2 separate regions of the Homo sapiens genome follow, and region 2 is linked to region 1. Evidence: promoter capture Hi-C in human tissues and cell types (Jung and others, 2019). All regions are on one chromosome and are shown on one strand. Each heading gives the region's core, a stretch centred on a gene start or on the middle of the fragment in contact. The rest is flanking DNA. Distances are from core to core; before and after follow the strand shown. Region 1 overlaps TTBK2 (tau tubulin kinase 2). Region 2 holds the start of ZSCAN29 (zinc finger and SCAN domain containing 29).

Evidence for each region. The method cuts DNA at HindIII sites, captures the fragments that hold promoters and counts their contacts. A contact is called where the count stands out against the background at its distance.
Region 2: the fragment with the promoter of ZSCAN29 here is called in contact with a fragment that was not itself captured in region 1 in 1 of the 25 tissues and cell types used here (hippocampus).

What each region holds. Positions count from the first base shown.
Region 1 is chr15:42,914,272-42,919,092 of GRCh38, reverse strand. All of the region lies in intron 1 of TTBK2 (tau tubulin kinase 2), which reads left to right. Among named protein-coding and RNA genes, the nearest start is that of TTBK2, 4.1 kb to the left of the region's middle. The HindIII fragment of the contact is 6,776 bases long and covers 1-4,821 here.
Region 2 is chr15:43,368,673-43,373,493 of GRCh38, reverse strand. It overlaps ZSCAN29 (zinc finger and SCAN domain containing 29), which reads left to right and starts at 2,451. Exons shown (of 6, transcript NM_001372080.1): 1 at 2,451-2,936; 2 at 3,469-3,898; 3 at 4,367-4,571. The coding sequence starts at 3,581. TUBGCP4 (tubulin gamma complex component 4) reads right to left here and starts at 2,393. Exons shown (of 18, transcript NM_014444.5): 1 at 2,062-2,393. The coding sequence starts at 2,139. RefSeq lists an enhancer at 2,263-2,382 and a silencer at 2,483-2,752. The HindIII fragment of the contact is 7,589 bases long and covers 1-4,821 here.

The sequences.
Region 1 (4,821 bases), core at 1,580-4,079:
AGGGGACATATGAAGCATGGTTTTAAAGGAAAGTTTCTCTTAACATTTTTCTTTTATGATAGAATGTTAGGAAATGCTTTCTTCCCTCTTCCAGTTTTAGACACAGAAGAAATTAAAGTCCATAACTTCATTAATTTAATATATAATATCAAGTTGATGCAAATTTGTACATTGGTTAGGGGGCTGAGAATAATATATCTTGCTCATTATCTTGTACTATGGTTAATACATAATTTAGTAAATTCTCTATTGCATTATATATGACTTTAGATTGTTGTATCTTCTTTTGATTTTAAGTGTTGATTATTTTAATACTTCAGGAAATCTTCAAGAGGTTAGACCTCATTTGCTTTAGCAAATTGAACTCAATTATGTGGGGCTTCAAGTATCTTTAAATGTAATACTAGAAGGGAAGTTTGCATAATTTAGACCATTTTCGAGCGTATTTTACTTCTAAAAAGTGCACTAAAAATGTGGCAATGATAAGTTATTGGTTTTTCAAAGTAAATGAATATTACAGATCCGAGTTAGCTGTGATCATGGAATTTAAATTTCACTTTGGTGGGGGGCAGCCACTTTTTTATATGCTTTATAACTTTAAAAAGTAACATATCCAGATGACTGCTTGATTGCAACTCATGAGAGACTCTGAGCCAGAACCACCTACCTAAGACACTTTCAGATTCGAATCCTGAGAAACTGTGTGAGATAATAAATGTTTGCTGCTTTAAAAAAAAAAACCTCATGCCTGTAATCCCAGCACTTTGGGAGGCCAAGGCAGGAGGATCGCTTGAGCCCAGGAGTTTGAGACCAGCCTAAGTAACACAGGGAGATCCTGTCTCTACAAAAAACAAACAAAAATTTAGCCGGGCATGGTGGCTCACACCTGTGGTTCCAGCTACTAGGGAGACTGAGGGGGTGGATCGGAGGTTGAGGCTGCTGTGATCTGTGATCGCTCCACTGCACTCCAGGCTGGGTGACAGAGCAAGACCCCATCTCTTGAAATAAATAAATAAATAAATAAATACAAATCTATGACAAGGGAAAGTGTTTAGGATCATTATTGATCTAGTAAGGACTGTGTTGATCAGTAAAATAAAAAGTCTTTGAGAATTATGGAAAATATAGCTATAGCTTACTTCTTTCCACACTTAAAAAAAAATCCTATAGGAAATATTCTTTTACAAATATATAGCAAACAGTGTTTTCAATTTGAGGGTATGCTACTCAAAATTACTCTAGTCATGTATTCATTTTTTGTTCTTATTGAGGTTTTTGAGAGACACTCAAAATGTAGCTGGAGCTATTTCTGTTTGATTAGTAATATTGCAATATACCTTCAATATTTATGGATTTTTGAAATTAAATACATTTTATTTAGTTTTATTTCCTAGTCTTTTTTTTTTTTGTCATCCAGCATATTGTAAACAATGTGTGGTAGTGGAAGTTTTTTCCCCAGGCTTCAGTGGATAGAACCTTTTATGCCGAAAGTACTGAAAGCTTTCAAGTTAAATATCGTACATATTTGGTGAAAGAGCCTTTAAGGTCATATGAAAAAATTCAGTTTTTTAGAACTAAATTTTGAGCATAAGGACAACACATATTACTACTCAAAACTGCCTCATTAAAGTCTGGTGATCCTTGATTATAGGTTTATAATACAGATTGAAATTATATTATAACATAATATGAATGTCAATTTTGCTAGATAGTTTCTTCTTTTCAGTTGGTTATTTTTAAATAGCCTTCTTAGTATATTTTCATTAATGTCATGTGACTTTATTCTTGATGCTTAAGTGAACATATAGTACTTACAAACTTTTGTGAACATTTTGGATTTTTTTTCCTGTGATTTTTTTTTTAACCTTTGTCTCTATAATCCTTGGTGTTTTGGAGTGTTTATAGCTGTTTTTTATTGTATATAGGAATTTGCTTTCACTTCAGTTAGGGTAAAGCTTCCCAATGTGAAAAACTTAAGTGTCCTTTGAAAAGAATCTGGGATGTAATAGTGCCTCCTAAAGAGTGGAAGTTACTAAGTAGCTTCTTAGCTTCCTTTGGTAAGCTATCGAGATTTAACCATGTTTTCAGAATCATTATTTTTTTAAACAGAGAATTAACATCTTTATTGAAAACAAGAATCAGCATTTTAAAATGTTTGAATTAGAAAACATATTTGCCATTATATATGTTTTTACCAAAATGGTTTTATAATTAATATTTTTATATTTGTCTTTTTCTTTCTGCAGTTTCAAAGTAGTTGCCTTTAAAAAAATGGAGTTGCAGTTTCCATCATCTTGTTCTAGCCATATGATCATTGAAAGACTATATTTTGTTCATATTTTTCCAACATTGAATTTTCCACGTTATATATTATAGATGAAGTTTGTAAAGTCTTTTTAAATTTCTTGATCCTCCAAGTGCTTCAGTTTCAAAAATATCTAAAAGTTTTATCACCATTTTTCAGCCGGGTGTGGTGGCTCACACGTGTAATCCTAGCACTTTGGGAGGCCAAGGTAGGTAATTGAATCACTTGAGGTCAGGAGTTGGAGACAAGTCTGGCCAACGTGGCGAAACCGCATCCCAACTAAAAATAGAAAAATTAGCAGGATGTGGTGGCATGCACCTGTAATCTCAGCTACTTGGGAGGCTGAGGCAGGAGAATTGCTTGAACCCGGAGGCGGTGGTTGCAGTGAGCTAAGATTGTGCCACTGCACTCCAGCCTGGGTGACAGAGTGAAACTCTGTATCAAAAACAAAAACAAAAAACATTTTTCAATGACCAATAAGGCGAAGATGAGGGGAGGAAAATAGGAAAAAATGAATAACCAAAGAAAAAAATGTGAGCCTTGCCTCTCATGGAAATTTGATTTAAGAAAAATCATCTGGAGGCTAAATTATATGGTAGATAATAAACTAGATTAGGACTTCATTTCTGCTGGACTTCCCTAGCACTTAAAAAATTCAACATATCCAAGATAATAGTCAGTTCTCTTTTTAACTTCCTTAATTCTATAAATAAAGGCATTATCATTTAGTCATACAGGATCAAAACACACATTCTCTCTCTCTCTTTTCTTTTTTCTTTTTTCTTTTTGCTCCCTATTTCTCCTGGATCTCACCCACACAAAACCTCTGCTTTCTTTCTTTTTTTGGAGACAGGGTCTTGCTCTGTTGCCCAGGCTGGAGTGCCATGATCGTAGCTCACTGCAGCCTTGACCTCCTGGGATCAGGCAGTCCTCCCCCCTTAGCCTCCTGGGTAGCTGGGACTACGGGCATGTGCCACCACACTTGGCTAATTTTACAATTTTTTGTATAGGTGGGGTCCCACTATGTTGCCCAGGCTGGTCTTGAACTCCTGAATTCAAGCAATCCTCCCACCTCAGCCTCCCAAAGTGCAGGAATTATAGGCATGAGGCACAATGCCTAGCCCTCTGCATTTTATTTCCATTGCTACCACCTTACTTTGGTCTCTGTGAAACTTTAAACTACTGTAGTCATCCCCATCTAAGGGGCATGCATTCCAAGACCCCCAGTGGATGCCTGAAACCTCAGATAGTACCTTACCCTATAGATAATTATGCTTTTCCTATACATACATGGCTGTGATAAAGTTTATAAATTAAGCATAGTAAGGGAATAATAACAATAGCTAATAAAATAGAACAGTTATCGTAATATGCCAGCATCACTACTCTTGTGTTTTAGGGCCATTATTAAGTAAAATAAGAGTTAGTTACTTGAACACAAGCACTGCTATACTGAGACAGTGATCTAACAACCAAGATGGCTACTAAGTGACAAACAGCACAGACGGTGCAGATACATGCTGGACAAAGGGATGGTTCACGTCCTAGGTGCAACAGAGCTGAACAGCTTGAGATTTCATCACCATACTCAAAACAATATACAATTTAAAACGTATGAATTGTTTATTTCTGGAATTCTCCATTTAATATTTTTGGACTGTGGTTGACCACGGGTAACTGAAACTGCAGAAAGTGAAACCATGGATAAGGGGGATTACTGTGTAACAGTAGCCTCATTCCTTGATTAAATACTTGCTAAGCATCTACCATGTTACTGTGCTAGGGGTTGGAGATTTAACAGCCAACAAGACAAATAATCTACTCACTTTTGGAGCTTACAAATAGTGGAAGCAGAGATTTGCAGGAGAAGGAATTACAAGTGTTCCAGGTATTATGAAGGGAAGATGCAGACATGAGCATTTAACAGACCTAACAGTCAAGAGGTGGGTTCAGGGAAGAAGTTTCTGTTTCATCAGCCACAGTTCATTCTACATACTTCACCAGAGTCAGAGGCTAGTGGATATATTATCCCTATAATTAGTTAAATAATTAAATAAATAATGACAAAATAAATGTTTTTAAATTTAAAAGACTATTTGAAATTAAATGTCCACACAACCCATGAAACAGCTTTAGACAAGTTCTTTCAGAACACAAGAACACTTGAAAGAGTTTTGTCCTAAAGAGTCCCCACTCTCCCTCCAATATGGGTTTCTACTTTGGATTCTCCCAAGCCTCAATTACTTGAATACTGACAGAGTTCCTATGTTATGGTTTTACACTCTCTGTTTGAACCATGAGAACTTAGGACTGTGTTACCAGAAGCCAGAGTACAAGCCATGGTTACAAGAAAGAGGTGTTCCAAGTAGATGGCTATAGTGTCTCTGTAGCTAGGGTCCAGCAGCTTATCGGTGATTCATTAAATGTACAAGTGATTAGGATATAATATATTAGGATATATTATATTATACTGTGGCTGGCCAGTTTTGCTGTTTTTGAAAAAGGAAGTTAAGGCC
Region 2 (4,821 bases), core at 1,202-3,701, 450 kb before region 1:
CATGTGTAAAGCACATATCCCAACCACATAGCTAGTGCTCAATACACATAAGCAATTTTATATTATTAACAAGACAGCTCTACCAGTTATCAAGTGATACTACTATTAAAATTGGCATTTGAGCGTTTCTTGTTGGCAGAGTTTTCGAAAAGTTCAATATCTAATTATTCTGAAACAGCAAATAATAACTCGAAGTTACTGATACCATTCTATATAACACAGTTATAGGAACAGGCTGAGAAATCCTGCATTAGAATAATGGTCATTTGAACTTATTGATTTGGTAGTTTTGTTTACTTTTAATTTATAAAAATATTTGATTTTATAGTTGTTTAAGAGTATTATGCTTGAGTTTATACCTAGCTTATGTATATACATATTCAATATAATAAAATAATTTTCATTAACACTTGGCACTCATGACAACTTTTCCCTTTACTCAAATGTAAAAGACACTGCTCTGCAGAAATTATGTAATATTTGCCATCTTTGTCTTCTTTTCTTCCATCAATACCTAAACACCTGCTATGTGGCAGAAACTGTGCTAGGTGCTCTGGGTAGATGAATGAAGAAGACCACTGGTCTTCGCTCCCAGGGGCAATCTATGCGGGAGAAAGGCTAAAAACAGGTAACAACAATACATTATGAATTGTGACAAATCCTACAAGGGAAATAAACAAGTTGATGGAGAATAATGGCATCAGGGGAGGATGCTTAAAGATGTGCTCAGAGAAAGTTTTTCTGACAAAGTGACTTTAAAGCTGAGACCTTGAGGATGAAATGGTAGAAAATACATGATTGAGAATTTTTCATAAGAAAGAAAGGAAGGGAAAAGATGAATTACTTGTGGTTGTCTCCCCCACCCCCTCCCTAGCTATCTTTCCTGTACTGTGTTATCTCTTCTTATTTTGGACCATCAGGCACCCACATACTTCCTAAATACTGTCCTCCTATATGCCTGGCATTGTACTAAGATCTATGGAGAAAAGTGAAACATCGAATTAGTCTTCAAAGACCTACAGGTGAAAGATAACAATTCAAACTCCACCACACAAATCTTCACCTGTTTTTTTCAAAAATTCACCTAAACTCCCAAACTCCAAATACATGTTCATAAATAATAACGAAAGGAAACTGTTTGATTTATAGGTTTTATAGACTAAGAATGTACTTTTTCTGCTCTTCCACAGTCTCCTAAGAATCGGCATGTCTTGGTGATCAGACGGACCTAGATTTCAGTCTTGCCACTACTAGGACTGGCCAGCATAAAGTTTTCTGAGCTTCAGTTTGCTCATTTGTTAACTGGTAGAAACAATACCTAAGTGGACTAAATTATTGAGAGCATTAGATAACATTACTGGAAGCAGAAGCAGGTAAAAGTAGTTCAAATACTGAAGCCAGACAGACCTGGCTTCAAAACTAAGCTCTGTTAATTACTAGCTATGACCCCGATAGTTATTTAACTATTCTAAACCTAGCTTAATCTGTAAAATGGATAAGGTGGTTGTGAGGATTAAATAAGATAATGCATACGGAACATCATACATTCCTGGTTACACAAAGGCCCCCTACCAAGTGCTTTACCTAGTGCAGAAATTTTCTGGTAAAGGAGTAATGAGGGAAACACCACACGCTCTCGATTTCATTTATTTCCTTCAACAAACTTTACTGAGCGCTTACCATGTGTTTGGGAGCTGTGTATTTGGCCCAGTACTTCAAAACTCAAACAATGCACGTGTGAAAATAAATAGGAGAAAGTGCCTCCCACACTTCTATATCATTCCCCAGCAACTGTCAGACACCTGGACCTCAGGCCCTTTCCTCGCCCCGCCACAGGTGGGGCTCTTCGAGGTCTGCCCTCCGTTTTCTAGCCTAGGCCCGGCCTCTCTAGGTGTCGCATCAGCCTTGACCCTAAGGGGCTGCCCTCCAGTCACCTGTCCAGGGATACGCCCCCAGCCCTGGAAGCCCCGCTCGCTAGGTCCCTCAGCCTACTCCCCCAGGCGCTGGCTCAGGTCCCCCCTCCTGCGCTCCCTGGTTCCCGCGCTCTGCGCCGGACAGTACCTGCAGGCCACTCCGCTTGTTCCAGGTGAAAATGGACCCAGGGTACCCGCTCAGAGCCAAGAGCAGTTCGTGGATCATTCCCACGGCGGACCTCGAGTCCCTGGTTATGTCACCCCCTCCTCCAGCGCACCTCCAGGCGACCACGAGGGGAGTGCTTCCCCTTCCACACGCGCACCGGCCCCTGGGTCGGGCGGTTTGTGCCGAATCAACCCACCGAGACAATCGCTGCGGCGGAGCGGACGGGAAGCTGGGAAGGGGTCGCGGGGGAGTCCCGGAAGTTCGGCAGCTCAACGGGGTCCACCAGCTACTCCCGCCCGGGCTCTGCGGAGACTGAGTCGCGGTCGCTGCCCTCGCGCATGCGCCCTCGGTGCCCCGAGCCGCCCGCTCGGACTTCCGGTTTGGGAGCTGTACTTGGGAGGCTGGAGAGCCGGGGCCGGGGCCGGGGCCGGGGCCGGGGTCAGGGTCGGACCCCGAGTGGGTGAGGCTGGCCCGGAGGCAAGGATGCGAGGGGGTTGAGGGGCAGCTCGAGAGGGAGACGCTCCCAGGGGTGGGCTGGAGGGCGCCCTCAGGGCGCCTTAGCCGGGTCAGAGGCCTCTGGAGGGACCGCACGACGGCTCCGGGTTACCCGGCCGGAGGGAGCGGAGACAAAAGAGGCCAGAATCCCGCAGCCGCTGCTCCTTGGGCTGAGAGCTCTGCGTCCGCGAACCGGCAGCACCTGGAGCCTCTGGCCGACACCCGAGCCCGTCCTCAGGAAGCCCGTTACTACTGCTCCTCGGATTCCGTCTCTCCTGCCCAATGTGACTCTCCCCAAGCCCCCATGGTCCTCGCTTTGGAGCCAAAACCAGCTTCTCTCCTTGCGCGAGGTTTTCCGACAGGTAGCTCCCTAATCCTTGCTGAGCGGCTACTACTACGCGGGGAAAACAAAGACCCGAGATTCTGGACGTGATTTTTGCCTGGGGTGGGCTTTGGGAGTTGTGCAGCCCGAGGGGGCGGGGCGGACGCAGAAGGCCTCGGGAAGGACTGCGGAGATACTGGGGGAGATCAGCTGCGACCAGCTGGACAGAGGCTTTTTGTTGCCTTCAAGCAGGATGGTGACTTGTCTTTAGATCCTCTCGAACTCCAGCTCTCCTATATGGTTCGGACTCACTGTGCAACATTGGCCAGGGAAGTTAAATGGGATCGGATTTGGAGGAGGTGGGAGAGGGGCAGACAGTACTTTTATTCTCTGCTGCTTCCTGGGGCTGCCCTGGAAGTCAACCAGAAAAGCAGTTTTTGCAAAGTCTATTTACTGAAGATTGTGCTACCTTAGAAGGCCACTCGGAGCACATGGAAAGGCAGGCCAGCTCTGGCAAGACTTTAGACATATGAATGTATTCCTTCTGATAGTGCCATCTTTCTCTGCCCTAGGAAGAAACACCTCTTACAGTCATCTGCAGGGGATTCTCCAAGGACATGGGAAGATAGATGTAAGCCCTGGAACCCAGACTCCTAAGCGAAGGGAAGCTGCATTCTGCTATTAATGATGGCCAAATCAGCTCTAAGAGAGAATGGCACTAACTCTGAGACCTTCCGACAGCGTTTCAGGAGATTCCATTACCAGGAGGTGGCTGGGCCGCGGGAGGCTTTCAGCCAACTCTGGGAACTTTGCTGTCGGTGGCTAAGGCCGGAGGTGCGCACCAAGGAGCAGATTGTAGAACTGTTGGTGCTAGAGCAGTTCCTGACCGTCTTACCTGGGGAGATCCAGAATTGGGTACAGGAACAATGTCCAGAAAATGGAGAGGAGGCAGTGACTCTCGTGGAAGATTTAGAAAGAGAGCCTGGAAGACCTAGATCTTCGGTGAGAAGGGAGGGGGAATTCAAATTCAAAAGTGTGATACTGGGTGGAGGGCTAAATTAAGATATAGACAGGCTTAAAGAGGGACACAGTCTCCCTTGGTGAGGCTTATACTTCTGGTCTGGTATAGGTAACTTTTTCAGATAGTGCTTGTCTGGAGATGCTTCCTGGGTGTACCTTCACCTACCCTGTCATAATGAGTTTTTCCTATAGTTTCTTAATAGGGAAGAAAGGGGATTTTTTTTTTTCAGCCTGAAGGTGGGTTTACTATTTTGATCGTTTCCTTCTGGAGTTTCAACTGCTTTAAGCTAATGGCAATGGAATAAGACCCTTGTTCGCGTTAACCTCCCTCACCCCTACAACCCTGGCCATGGCTCTGAAAGATGATCTCTTTTGGGGTATTAAATACTCTCCTCTGGGAATGCCCCTCATTATGATCTTGCAGTGACAATTAACGGGGGTTGTTTCTAGGTCACAGTCTCTGTGAAGGGGCAGGAAGTGCGCTTGGAGAAGATGACACCCCCGAAATCATCACAAGAGTTATTAAGTGTTCGGCAGGAGTCAGTGGAACCCCAGCCCAGGGGTGTACCCAAGAAAGAGAGGGCAAGAAGCCCAGACCTGGGACCACAGGAGCAGATGAACCCAAAGGAGAAGCTCAAACCTTTTCAAAGGAGCGGTGAGGAGTAGATTCATATGGGAAGATAGACTGCCATTCCAAGTTGGGAAGTAGGGTTGGGAATAGTGAGTGGGAAAGGGATTTCAGGAGTAAGTGGAAATTGCAGAATATGTGGTTGTTGACATGTAGTTTAGCCTCTGGTATTCATATTACCTCTTGATAAGTCCACAAGAGAATGGCTCCCTAGTTTTTATCGGAACTTGGAATTATTTTATTTCCTCTTGGTAATGATGATAGTATAGGTCATTAT